3 separate regions of the Homo sapiens genome follow, and all the other regions are linked to region 1. The links are contacts of gene promoters, found by promoter capture Hi-C in blood cells and fetal thymus (Javierre and others, 2016). All regions are on one chromosome and are shown on one strand. The core of a region is centred on a gene start or on the middle of the fragment in contact, and the rest is flanking DNA. Distances in the headings are between cores, read along the strand shown.

Region 1 (4,577 bases), core at 714-3,213:
GAGCCCTGTCAGGGCAGAGTTGGCCTTTACAGTGGCTCTCCAGGGAGGTCTCAAGACCAAGGTAGAGGAAAATACAACACACACACGCCACACGGGCGACGCTCAGCTGCATGGTGCCAAGCGAAGAAAGCCAGGCACAAAAGACCACACGGTGAATGGTTCTCCTTGCATGCAATTGCGAGAGAGGCAAAGGGCAGTGACAGAAATCAGAGGAGCAGTTGTCTGGAACCAGGGCGGAGGGGAGGTGAGGGGTTAGCTGCAGAGGGGCAGGAGGGTACTTTTGGGAGGAGAGGACTTCTTGAACTCGGGGGGAGACTAGCCTGGTGGTTTCGCGTGTCAGAAGTCATGGAACTGAGCCGGGCATGGTGGCGGGGCCTGTGGTCCCAGCTGCTCGGGAGGCTGAGGCAGGAGGATCGCTGGAGCCTAGAAGTTCAAGGCTGCGGTGAGCCGAGATCGTGCCACCGCACTCCAGCCTGGGCGACAGAGACCCTGTATCTAAAAAATAAAGGAAAAAATTCATGGAACTGTATACTTCCATGTACTGTACTTAAATTTCCTGGTATTTATCGTATGTATAGAATACCTCACATCTTAATAAAGTCGTCGTTTTTAGTGTGAGGGGTGCTATGGGGCACGGAGGGCGATCCGGCTGCCGACCCTCGGCGGCGGCGCGGGAGTGCGAGGCCGGCGGGGAGGTCGGGTCCTGCGGCCTCGCCGGGGCCCCTGCAGCGCTCTCCCGCCAGGGGGCAGCGTCGGGCCGGCGGCGCGGGCGGGAAGCTCCAGCGGCCGGGACGCGGTGGTGCCGTCTTCCCCCTGCGGTGAGGGACCGCGTCGCGCCACCCCGCTCTCAGCGCAGCCCGCAGCGGCGAGGCCACCGGGTGGGACACGGGTGCCCGCGCGTCGCGCCGCAGCTCGCGGGGACCTGGCGCCCCGTCCCGGGAGGGGATCTGGCCCCCGGGCGCCGGCTCTCCGTCCACGCGGCGTCCTCCCTGCAGCCCGCTAGGGCCGCTCGCCCGTCGCCGCCTGCGGAACGCGGAGGGGCAGCACGGCCACGCCCGGCCACTCGAACCTGCTCCCCGGCGCCGCGTGACCGTGTCAGGTCCCCGTCGGCCTCGCCGTGCCGACCCCGGGCGCCTCCACAGTGGCTCGGAGGCCGCTGCTGCCCGGATGCCCGGGTTCCACGAGGCTCTCCCAGCCCGACAAGCCCGCCGATCCCACGGGCACGGGCGGAGGAGAGGGAACCGCCGCGCCCGCCCCGCGCGCCGTCGCCGACCCCGGTGGGTCGCGCTTCCCCGCGCACGCCGCGCTCTGGCGCGGGGAGAGGCCCCTCGGGGTCCGCCCGGGTCAGCGTCCCGCGGGGGTGGCGGCCGTTCGCTCAGCCTCCTCTCGACTTCCCTTTCCTGTCAGGGCTGCTGGGGCTGACAGGCTCCCGGGCAACCACGCCGGGGAACCCCTCACGCCCGCCGATCGCTGCGGGGCTCAGCAGCCGCCCCGTGCGCTGAGTCCCCTGTCATGAGTGACTCCATTGCGAGGCGTTTCGGGCCACGAAGCAGGACCGGGGGCCGCACTCCGGGTCCCCGCCCTGCCCTCGCCGACCTCCCGCGCGTGGAAGGGGGACGGCGGCGGCGGAGCTCCCCGCCACGGAGAACCCCGAAATGGTCATTTCGAACGAGAGGAGTGTGGCCTGGGGTGTCTGGTTTAACAGCCCCCCGCGCCGAAAGGCTGTTCGCCGAGGAGGGGCCGCCGGGGAGGGAGCCCGAGCGCGGCGGGGCGAGACCGGTCCCCGCCCGGCGTTGCCCGGCCCGAGGGACGGCGGCGCCCCCAGGACCCTCCCCAGCGCGGCCCCAGCTCGCTCCGGGACCGCGGGGCCAGGCCGGGCGGGAGCGCGGGGACGTACACGGCGGCCCCGCCCGCGCGCTCCTCCTCCCTCCCGGCCCGCCCTGCGCCGGCGGCGGCGGCCCCAGTCTCCGCGCTGCTGAGGCGCGCCCGGCCGCTCCCACGGCCTCCCCTCCGCCCTGCGGTCCCGCCGCCTCCGGGGCCTCCTGGGACCCTGGCCCTCGCCGGGCAGGACGCCGCCAGCGCTGAAGGCGCAGCCCGGAGGCCGCGCGGGTGAGTCGGTGCGCAGCCCCAGCGGCTCCAGAGGAGCGGGTGCGGGGAGGGCGAGCGGACCAAGTCGGCCGCGTTCCCACCTTGCGCGCAGCCGGGAGACCAGCAGGCCCAGCCTCTAGGGAGGAGGGCAGGGGAGCTGGGGGCCGCCCCCCGCATTCTCGCAGGCACCTGTCCCTAGGCCGGGGTCCGCTGGCTCGAAGCACTGACCCGCCCCGGACCTAGGGGGACGGAGGCAGCGGTGACATTTGCCCAGGAAGGGCGGCAGTGGGTAAACTCCACTCCAGGGCACGGGTCTGGGCGCAGGTTGAGGCCTGGGGTTGAATCTGCTTCTGCTAGAGGCCAGTGTTCTCAGGGAGGCCCATAACCCGACTGGGTCTCAGTTCCCCCTGGTATGAAACAGCAACAGGGCAAGAGGAGGAAACCATGCCACGCTGCAAAGCTCTGAGCACGAAGCCGAGAAGAATCTCGGCTCCCGGCCTCGGGGGCTGCACTTCGGGCCAGGCCTGCACTCCCAGGATAAGAGGATGGCCTCCTGCCCCAGGGGTGGCATGGGGGCGCGCAAAAAGCAAAGGTGACCCTGCCAGGGAGCACCCAGCGCTCCGGTTGGTGGTCATGGGGTCTTTGCGTGGGACTCACAGTGTGGCCGGGAAAGTTCTGTAATGAGGACATTTCTCATCATTCCTTCTTCTCAAAAGTCATTCGTCAGCCCCAGACACCTTTGCCTCGGAAAACTGAGAACTACTTTCAAAATCGTCAACACCCCCATCTCCTGCTACAGAGCGGAGTCCCCACTTTGCAGAGGCGCACTGCAAGGTCGCGGGTGGTTAAATGGTGCGCCCTCCTTGATGAAGATGCCTTGTTCTCTTTCACTCTCTATGTGTGTTTAATGTTGTGTGTTGCGTTCTCTGTGAAGCGAAGGATAAACACGGGCCCTTTCAGGCAACCGAAGGAAGAAGGCGGCCAGCATCAGATCTTCCCGTGCTTCAAGGTGGAGCACCCTGCAGGGCTTACTGCAGCGCTCAGGGTCAAAGTGAGGATGCAGTGCGGCACCAAAAGGCAAATGGACTCTGGAGAGCCACTCTCACCTTGTACCCCTGGAGTAGACCCCGAGGACTGGAGGACTGGAACAAGATCTTAGTCCTGAGGGCGGGAGAAGCAGCCTTTGGTGGTTGCACAGGGGCCCGGCTTTTCCCGAAGTCTTAAAGCCTGCTCCAAATGCCAGATTCAGACAAAGGGGCCGAACCTTGGGCCCGCCGCCTTCTCCCATAAGCGGCAACCCAGCAGCTTTGCCAGGAAGTTTACATGTGAAGGTACGGACCTTTCTTGGAATGAGCCACACCTGATGGCCCTGCCACTCCGGACGGCGCTCGTTCACGGCTGTCCCTGGAGCAGACACGGTTCTGCGCACACACCTGGGCGCCGGAGAAACAGGGCACCCAAAGCGGGCCCAGGCCCTCGGACTCAGCGAGCTGGACACGTGTCCCCATCACCCGCGGCTGGCGGGAGCAGTGTTTCTACTCCCTTCCCTCCCCTCCTCCCGCCCCGCAGATGTGCTGTCTTTCCCGGCCTCCCCCCGCGCCCAGCACAGTGGTTTCTGCTTGGCTGTTCCCCTGTCTCTGAGATGGTCTCTCCCTGCTGCTTGCCCTACACATTCTCCCACACAGGCGCGCGGGATGCCCCTGTCGGCGTGGTTGTCAATGCCTGCTCCCCTGCCCCCCAGTCCAATCTCCACGACTCTGGGCCCTGTCGCTTCATCCTAAAGCCTTCCGCTCACGAGCCCTCCCGACGACCGACCCCCAGGAGGCTACTGGAGATGCAGGATTTGGACCCGTGCTGGACCCGCACCCGGACAGATCCCTCTGAATGAATGAATGAATTAATGAGCAGGCTGCATCCTGATTAGGTTAAGGTGGGTGGTTGCCATGCTTGGCGTTGGCTCTGTCCCCTGGGATAAAAGGCGAGAGGCAGCCACATGGACAGCTCCTCCAGTGGGGTCTCAGACTGGAGAGACGCCAGCGGGCGGGGGTCGTTCCCTGGAGCTCCCGCATTTGTTATGGTCGATGCCCCACTACGTTGTCACCTTCTCCGGAGGACCTCCTGCTCTGTCCTTGACAGATGGGCCCCAGTGGGCCCACCCAGGCTGGAGATGAATCTCAAAGGGACTCCATGCCTGGGAGACCTCAGCCAAGCAGGGCAGAGAAATAATCAGACAACAGTCAGCGCATGGCGCCTGCAGAGTTTTGCACAGGGTCCTTCAGAAGGAGGGTTAGGGAAGACTTCTTGGGGGTTAGGGCAGTTAAGCAAGATGGATAAAGAAAGCAACCACTTATGTCTGCATATTTTCTTCATTTCATCTTCACAACAGCCCTGAGATAGGTACTTGTTTTAAAGCTGAGGTATAAATTGGGGTTCAGAGAGATTGAGTGCTTTCACCATGAACAAGTGACAGAGAGCAACGACTTGAACCG
Region 2 (4,577 bases), core at 1,304-3,803, 440 kb after region 1:
GTTTGTTTGAGACAGAGTCTCACTCTGTTGCCCAGACTGGAGTGCAGTGGCATGATCTTGGCTCACTGCAACCTCTGCCTCCTGGGTTCAAGCGATTCTCCTGCCTTAGCCTCCTGAGTAGCTGGGATTACAGGCGCGTGCCACCATGCCGGGCTAATTCTTTGTATTTTTAGTAGAGACGGGGTTTCACCGTGTTAGCCAGGATGGTATAGATCTCCTTGACCTCGTGATCCTCCCGCCTCGTCCTCCCAAAGTGCTGGGATTACAGGCGTGAGCCACTGCACTCAGCCTATAATATCCTCTTAGCTTTTTGTCATCTGTTTACATGTATAATGATGTCCCCTTCTTCAATCCTGTTATTGGTTATCTGTGACTTCTCTTATTTATTAATCTTGTCAGGAGTTTTTCAGTATCAATAACCTTTTCAAAGAACCATTTAAAAATTGTTTATTTATTTATTTGGAGAGATGATCTCACCCAATTGCCAAGGCTGAAGTGCAGTGGCACAATCATAGCTCACTGCAGCCTCAGACTCCCGGGCTCAAGTGATCCTCCTACTTCAGCCTCTCAGGTAGCTGGGACTACAGGTGCACACTGCCTCACCTGGCTAATTTTTAATTTTTTGCAGAGATGGGATCTCCCTACGTTGCCCAGACTGGTCTCAAACTCTTGGCCTCAAGTGATCCTCCAACCTCAGCCTCCCAAACTGCTGGGATTACAGGCTCAACCCACCATGCCTCGCCTAAATTTATTTTTTAATGACAAAAAATATATATATTTATGGTACATAACATGATGTTTTGAAATATGTTTACATGTGGAGTGGCCAAATCAAGCTTGCTACCATATACATTATCTCACAAAAAAAGTCTGCTTTTAAAAAAATGCAACCCTCAAGTGGAACCAGAAAAGACATTTTATTTCTTTAGATATGTGGTCTTGGTAGGTTGCCCATGCCAAGCTCAAGTGATCCTCCTGCCTCAGCCTCCCAAGTAGTTGATACCACAGGCACACGCCACCATGCCCAGCTTCTTACCATTTTTTTTTTTGCGATGAATTGTTGCGGGAACTCAGGGACCCTGAACGGAGGGACCAGCTGAAGCCACGGCAGAAGAACATAAATTGTGAGGATTTCATGGACATTTATTAGTTCCCCAAATTAATACTTTTATAATTTCTTACGCCTGTCTTTACTGCAGTCTCTGAACATAAATTGTGAAGATTTCATGGACATGTATCACTTCCCCAGTCAAGACTCATAATTTCCTGTGCCTGTTTGTACTTTAATCTCTTAATCCCGTCATCTTCGTAAACTGAGGATGTATGTCACCTCAGGACCCTGTGATGATTGCGTTAACTGCACAAATTGTTTGTAAAACGTGTGTTTGAACAATATGAAATCTGGGCACCCTGAAAAAGAACAGGATAACAGCGATGTTCAGGGAACAAGGGAGATAACCATAAGGTCTGACTGCCTGCGGGGCCGGGCAGAACAGCGTCATATCTTTCTTATTGCAGAAAACGAGTAGGAGAAATATGGCTGCATTCTTTTCCCAGCAAGGAATCACCCTGGGAAGGGAACGCATTCCCGGTGGGGGGCATGGACGGCCGCTCTGGGGCTGTCTGCCTCATGCGGTTGAAGATAAGGGATGAAATAACGCCCTGCTCTCCTGCGGCGCCCCCAGGCTTGCTAGGATTAGGAAATTCCAGCCTGGCGAATTGTAGTCAGACCAGTTCTCTGCTCTTGAACCCTGTTTCCTGTTAAGATATTTATCAATGACAACGCGTGCACAGTGGGACGTGAAACCTCATCAGTAATTCTAATTTCGCCCTGGCCTTGTGAGCTTGCTCTGCCCTTATGCCCTTGTGATCTTTTATTGCCATTTGAATGAAGCGTGTGATCTCTGTGACCCACTCCCTATTCATACCCCCTCCCCTTTTGAAATTCCTAATAAAAACCTGCTGGTTTTGCGGCTCAGGTGGGTATCACAGAACCTGCCGACACGTGATGTCACCCCCGGAGGCCCAGCTGTAAAATTTCTCTCTCTTGTACTCTTTCTCTTTTTTTCTCAGACCAGCTGACACTTAGGGAAAATAGAAAAGAACCTACGTTGAAATATTGGGGGCTGGTTCCCCCAATAATGAACACACTTAAGAACTATTCTCTTAGCAAATTTCAAGTATACAATACAGTATTATTAACTATAATCACTGTGCTGTGTATTAGATCTCCAGAACTTATTCACGTTATATTGAAAGTTTGTACCCTTTGGCCAACATCTCCCATCTCCCCAGCCTCCTAACCAACCCTGGCAACCAACATTCTACTCTCTGTCCCTGCTTCTAGAAGTTTCACTTTTTTCAATTCCTCATATAAGTGAGATCATGCAGTACTTGTCTTCCTATGCCTGACTTATTTCTCATAGCATAATGTCGTCCAGGATCTTACATCTTGTTGCAAATGACAGAATTTCCTTCTTTTTAAAGGCTGAATAGTATTCCATTGTGTATATACACCATATTGCTTATTTACTTATTTTTAATGTCATCCATGATGAGCATGTAGCACATTTTTTCAGCATATTGTTTTTCAAATTAATTTTTTTTTTGTTTTGTAGAGATGAGGTCTCACTATGTTGCCTAGCCTGGTTTCAAACTCCTGGGCACAAGTGATCCTCTTGCCTCAGCCTTCCAAAATGCTGGGATTATAGGCATGAGCCACCATGCCTAGCATACCACATTGTTGATGGCTCCTTAAGTTGATTCCATATCTTGGCTATTATGAATAACGCTGCAATTAATGTGGGAGTGTAGGTGTCCCTTCAACACACTGAGTTCATTTCCTCCAGATATGCACCTAGTATATATCATTGCTGGATCATATGGTAGTCCTATTTTTAATTTTTTCAGAAACCTCCATACTGTTTTTCATAATGGCCGTAATAATTTACATTCCCATCAATAGTGCACAAGGGTCAAAGAACTAATATTTGCCTTTGATAATCCTTTCTATTATTTATTTCTTTCTATTTCATGAATTCCTGCTCTAATCTTTATTATTTCCTTCATTCTAATAACTTTAGGTTTAATTTGCTCTTTTTCTAACACCTTGAGATGAACACTTATCTCACGGATATGTCCAGCTTTTATTTTGCATTTGAGACAAAATTTCTTCAAAGTACAGTTTTAGCTACCTCCTTATTGTCTTATGTCACATTTTCATTGTTTTTCAATGAAACATTTAAAATTTTCATTGTATTTTCTTCTTTGAGACATGAATAATTTAGAAACATGGTAAAACACTGAAACTTTCTTCATGATGTTGGTAACAAGAGAATAGAATGAAGCCTATAATCCCAGCACTTTGGGAGGCTGAGGCAGGCAGATGGCCTGAGGTCAGGAGTTTGAGAATAGAATGAAATTCCCTTGATTAATTCTATTCAACATTCTGTTGAAGGTGTAGACATTACAACAAGACAAGAAAAAGAAATGAAAGACATAAGAATTGGAAAGGAAGAACTAAAACTGTCATTCACAGACAACATGATTGTGTTTGCAGAACAAGGACGGATGCGGTGACTCACGCCTGTAATTCCAGCACTTTGGGAGGAAAAGGTGGGTGGATCACCTGAGGTCAGGAGTTTGAGACAAGCCTGGCCAACATGGTGCAACCCTGTCTCTACTAAAAATACAAAAATTAGTCAGGTGTGGTGGCATGTGCCGGTAGTACCAGCTACTCAGGAGGCTGAGGCAGGAGAGCCACTTGAACCCAGGAGGTGGAGGTTGCAGTGAGCTGAGATCACGCCACTGCACTCCAGCCTGGGTGACAGAGCAAGACGAAAGAAAAGAAAGGCGGGCAGGCGGGCAGGCGGGCAGGCGGGCGGGCAGGCGGGCGGGTGGGCGGGCAGGCAGGCAGGCGGGCGGGCGGGCATCTACAGATGAACGACTAAGTGAAAAATGGGTTTAGTAAGGTTGCTGAATAAAAAGGTAAATATAGAAAAATTGGTCGTATTTATAACAGCAATAAGAAAAACATTAAACACTACTTACAACAGCATCAAGAAACATCAAATACCTAGTAATAAATCTAATGGAAAACATGCAAAAACTCTACAAAGGAAACTACAAAACACGACCGAGGAAAATTAAAGAGAATCTAAATAAAGATACGTATCATATTCATGAATTAGAAGGCTAAATATTATGAAGATGTCAATGTAATTCTACTCAATATCCCAGCTCATAGCGTTCTAAAAATTAGCAAGCTTATTGAAAATTTTATATGAAAATGCAAATGGCCCAGAATACCCCAGATAATCTTGAAGAGCATAGCTGGAGGACTCACACTGTATGTTATTAAGACTTTTTAATGAAGCCAAAATAATTAAGGTTGAGTGTGATTTGGGCACAAGAATAAATAAGCAGACCAATGGAACAGAATAGAGGATAGAAATAGATGCTTGCATGTATGCAAACTTGATTAATGACAAAAGTCCACTGCAGAGCAGTGAGGAAACTCTTTATAATAAATGGGATTGAGTCAGTTGTATATCCATATGGAGAAGAAAAGAATCTTG
Region 3 (4,577 bases), core at 1,368-3,867, 380 kb after region 1:
GGTGGCACTTGCCTGTAATCCCAGCTACTCAAGAGGCTGAGGCAGGAGAGTCGCTTGCAGCCAGGAGGCAAAGGTTCCAGTGAGCCAAGATCGCGCCACTGTATTCCAGCCTAGGCAACAGAGTGAGACTCCGTCTCAAAAAATAAAATAAATAAAATAAAATAAAATAATCAAATCGTAACATAAAATAAACCAGAGATTTTTGCCTCCACTTGAGGCTGCTCAAATGTCATTCCTGAATGGTGGTCTCCTAGTTCAGGGGAGAAGTACCTGGAGACTTAAAAACAAACAAAAGGCTGGGTGCGTTGGCTCACACCTGTAATCCCAGCACTTTGGGAGGCCGAGGGGGGTGGATCACGAGATGAGGAGATTGAGACCATCCTGGTTAACACGGTGAAACCCCGTCTCTATTAAAAATGCAAAAAATTAGCTGGGCGTGGTGGCGGGCGCCTGTAGTCCCAGCTACTTGGGAGGCTGAGGCAGGAGAATGGCGTGAACTCGGGAGGCGGAGCTTGCAGTGAGCCGAGATCGGGCCACTGCACTCCAGCCTGGGAGAGAGTGAGACTCTGTCTCAAAAAAAACCAACAACAAAAACAAACAAACAAAACTCCACTCTACTACTCCATGGAATTTAATTTGCTAGGGCATCTTATTTATTTATTTGAGAAGGAGTTTTGCTCTTGTTGCCCAGGCTGGAGTGCAATGGCTGGATCTCAGCTCACTGCAACCTCCCCCTCCCGAGTTCAAATGATTCTCCTGCCTCAGTCTCCCGAGTAGCTGGGATAACAGGCACGCGCCACCACACCCGGCTAATTTTTGTATTTTTAGTAGAGACGGGGTTTCTCCATGCTGGTCAGGCTGGTCTCGAACTCCCGACCTCAGGTGATCCGCCTGCCTCGGCCTCCCAAAGTGCTGGGATTACAGGCGTGAGCCACCGCGCCCGGCTGCATCTTATCTTTTAAAAGCTTCCCACATATAGGCTATCTTGATTGTGATGGATATATACATACATCAAAGCTTATCAAATTGTGCACTGGTAAATAGGTATAGCTTGTTTGATGTCAGTTATTATCTCAATAAAGCTAATTTAAAGAAATAAAAAACTCCCCAGGTGATTCTAGTGGGCATCCCAAAATGAGAAGCATTGAGCTAGGTCAGCCTCAGCAACAGCCCCAGGAAGGAAGACATCTGCTCCGGAATCGCGTCGTGACCAGCAGCGCCCCCAGGACTTAGACCGCATGAGTCCTGTGCTGTTGATCCAGTGGTCTTGCCTCAAGACCAAAATGATAGAACATTGCTGAGCTTCTCCCAAAATTAAAAAGAGGCACCTAAAAATTTTGAACTGAGGCTGGGCGCGGTGGCTCACGCCTGTAATCCCAGCACTTTGGGAGGCCGAGGCGGGCAGATCACGAGGTCAAGAGATCAAGACCATCCTGGCTAACACGGTGAAACTCCATCTCTCCTAAAAATACAAAAATTAGCCGGGCGTGGTGGCGGGCGCCTGTAATCCCAGCTACTCGGGAGGCTGAGGCAGGAGAATGGCTGGAACCCGGGAGGCGGAGGTTGCAGTGAGCCGAGATCACACCACCGCACTCCAGCCTGGGCGACAGAGCGAGACTCTGTCTCCAAGAAAAAAAAAAAAAATTGAACTGCTAGGATTGTTATTCAGAGGTGTGGGGTATGTAAGGAAAAGAAAAATCCCGAAACAACAAAACACCCCCGCAGCCTTTAGTTGGCAGAGTCACGGTTTAGAAGGCAGTTGGTTGTCCTTTGGGGGTATTGCAGGCCCGCCTCCCTCGCTCTACCCGCTGGGCTGTGGAGCCCGTACGGCCAGTGAGGAACGCGGCACACCAGCAGCTCTCTCATCCAGCTGGCTGCCGATCTCCTTAACTCCAGGCTCACTAGTTCCAACTGCCTTTTCTGTATTTCCACCTCCGATTTAACATGTTCAAAACCGCACTCGTTACCCTCACCCCCCAATCTTTTTTTTTGAGACAGAGTCTCGCTCTGTCACCCAGGCTGGAGTGCAATGGCGCGATCTCGGCTCACTGCAAGCTCCGCCTCCTGGGTTCCCGCCATTCTCCTGCCTCAGCCTCCCGAGTAGCTGGGATTACAGGCACCTGCCACCACAACCGACTAATTTTTGTATTTTTAGTAGAGGCGGGGTTTCACCACGTTGGCCAGGCTGGTCTCGAACTCCTGGCCTCAGGTGATCTGCCCACCTCAGCCTCCCAAAGTGCTGGGATGACAGATGTGAGCCACTGCGCTCGGCCCCTCACCTCCCAATCTATTCCTCCTTTTCAATACCCTTTCTTAATAAGCAGTACCTTATAAATGTCTGCACCAAAAAGCTTCTCACTCTTGACATACAAATGGTGTCCACATGTGTTCCTGCATTCTCTTAAATACATCCCTCCTCCATCTTTAGTCACCTTAGTTTAGGTCCTCATCATTTTCTGCCTAGACCTCCTGACTCCCACCTTTCAGATATTGGTTTTTGTAGCTAATCATGCCCCTGCTGAAAACTTTTGAATGGCTTCCCCCATGAAAAAATAGACAAAACCCAAACTATTTGGTATGGCAATTATAATCCAGACGCAATTTCCCTGTTCCATGCCCTCCCCCACCACTTGTCCAGCATGGTTCCAGACATAGCGGACCTATCTGTGCCTCCGTATCATAGCACGTCCTATCCCACTTGCCTGGAACAGTGGATTTATCCTCATTAGCTCCCACCTACTATCTTCTAAGCTCAGCTTAAACATCGCCCCAGGTTAACTATTCCCTCTCCTATGCCACCCTGGACCTCACCTGTAATTTCGTTAAAGCAGTTACCTCAGTTTCACAGTAGTCTGTTTCCACATTTGCTTTCACAGAAGCTTGTCAGCAACTTCGATTTTTCCTTCTCATCTTTCCATCTCTAGTACCTGGTAAAAGCCTGCTAGATAACGGATGTTAGAAAATAATTTGATGAATGATCTTTCCTGCCTTTTTCATTCTGTCTACATTACCAAGTGGATGACTAGTAGCTGGGTGGGCAGGGAGATCCTTCAAAATTTCAGAAGCTCAACTATGGCCATGTAAAACCTAGAGTGGCCTCCGTGACTCCGTCGGCACTGAAGTTCCTGTAGGCTGTGCTCAGAAGGGTGGATTGCGCTGGGCTTTGCCACCAGTCTCTGCTCAGAGCAGTGTCTTTGCTACCAACATGTCTTTTAGCAAAGTAACCATCTGTCCGTGCTATTCTGGGCAATTGGATCATGAACTACATCACTCTTTGGCCTACTGAGGGGTTAGAGATGTCATCAACAACTCTCATTGCAACCTTAAGCCTCCTTTCCTTCCAAGGTGAAGATGACCAACAAGGGGGCACAGATCAATCATATGCTCTTTAAACATGGGTTGGGAATATGAACAAGTTAGCTATATTAAAATAAACAAAGATATCTGGTCTGTTCCCACTACAATATGCCTCTAATGAATCTAACTTGAGACGCTAGAATTTTAATACATTATTTCAGGGAGACTTTCTTAAGGGAGCTATGACCTCAAAACCATTACTTGATTTTATCCCCATTTTATTTATACAGGAAAGGGGGCAGAAATATAACATGGTGTACAAGTATCATATCATATCATAGACAGGACTTGACTTCTCTAATCTTTTCTTAATGTTTTCCTGCCTTAAACAGAAATTAAACACTATCAACAGGGTGACCTAAGGAAACTCCCCAAATGATTCCTACTTCTTGAGCCACTCATCATGAAATCCTACATACAAAAGCTGAATAACAATCTTAAATCTTAAAGGGCTACTTCTTTCAGCAAACTATTATTCTGAAGACTAGAGAACATGTTGCTCTCAACAGTATTTTAGTGAACACATTAAATAAGAAGCAAACAGTTCGAGGGAGGATCCAAAAAAGAAATCAGGACAACAGACTGGTAAAGCTGTCTCTGGCGTCTCTTTCCACTAAACAAAGCGGCAAATACAGAACATTTACACCTATTTTTCTTTTATAAAATTTAAATGCTTTGGGCTGGGCACGGTGGCTCATGCCTGTAATCCCAGCACTTTGGGAGGCCGAGGCACACGGATCACCTGAGGCAGGGGTTGCAATGAGCCGAGAGCACATCAACTGCTCTCCAGCCTGGGTGACAGAGCAAGACTTTGTCTCAAAAAAAAAAAAAAAAAAAAAAAAAAAAAAAAAAAAAAAAAAAAAATTAAAATGCTTTGAACTTTAACATATCAGCCAACTTGTTTAGCAACATCATCAACTGATTCTCTTTTAAGCTTTTGGATCACAGGAGCCGTGTATTCAGCCAGTTCAGGAATAGCATGCCTGTCTCTCATAATTCTTGGCAAACAACTGCATTATCAAACAAATGTCAGCAGGAGGGTGGGGTGGGGGGCGGTAGAGGCAATTGGGAAATAAGACCCTAGTGAATTACTGTTCTCTGTCCACTTTCCATTCTAAACATGGGGAATGTGGATTCTATTATTAAAGCCATGGAATTTATAGGTAAATTCCATCACCACCTCTGGCTATTAAGGCACCCCAATTTTTCTTTCTAACCAA

The links. Contacts are between HindIII fragments. The CHiCAGO score rates a contact against its expected background, and 5 or more counts as called.
Region 2: a contact is called between a fragment that was not itself captured here and the fragment with the promoter of PIGZ in region 1, in 1 of 17 cell types (erythroblasts). The highest score is 5.4, in erythroblasts.
Region 3: a fragment that was not itself captured here is called in contact with the fragment with the promoter of PIGZ in region 1 in 1 of 17 cell types (M2 macrophages); the score reaches 5.2 in M2 macrophages.

The regions. Positions count from the first base shown.
Region 1 is chr3:196,966,219-196,970,795 of GRCh38, reverse strand. PIGZ (phosphatidylinositol glycan anchor biosynthesis class Z (Gwada blood group)) reads left to right here and starts at 1,963. Exons shown (of 3, transcript NM_025163.4): 1 at 1,963-2,109. It overlaps LOC124906255 (collagen alpha-1(I) chain-like), which reads right to left and starts at 1,663. Exons shown (of 3, transcript XM_047449439.1): 1 at 1,547-1,663; 2 at 584-1,400; 3 at 1-495. The coding sequence starts at 1,663. The coding sequence ends at 585. RefSeq lists silencers at 624-843, 854-1,173, 1,284-1,343, 1,454-1,513, 1,524-1,733 and 1 more and enhancers at 779-1,314, 1,315-1,850, 1,851-2,386. The HindIII fragment of the contact is 27,924 bases long and covers 1-4,577 here.
Region 2 is chr3:196,530,636-196,535,212 of GRCh38, reverse strand. No RefSeq gene overlaps it. Among named protein-coding and RNA genes, the nearest start is that of SMCO1, 18 kb to the right of the region's middle. RefSeq lists an enhancer at 1,467-2,080. The HindIII fragment of the contact is 3,429 bases long and covers 839-4,267 here.
Region 3 is chr3:196,589,100-196,593,676 of GRCh38, reverse strand. No RefSeq gene overlaps it. Among named protein-coding and RNA genes, the nearest start is that of FBXO45, 23 kb to the right of the region's middle. The HindIII fragment of the contact is 528 bases long and covers 2,354-2,881 here.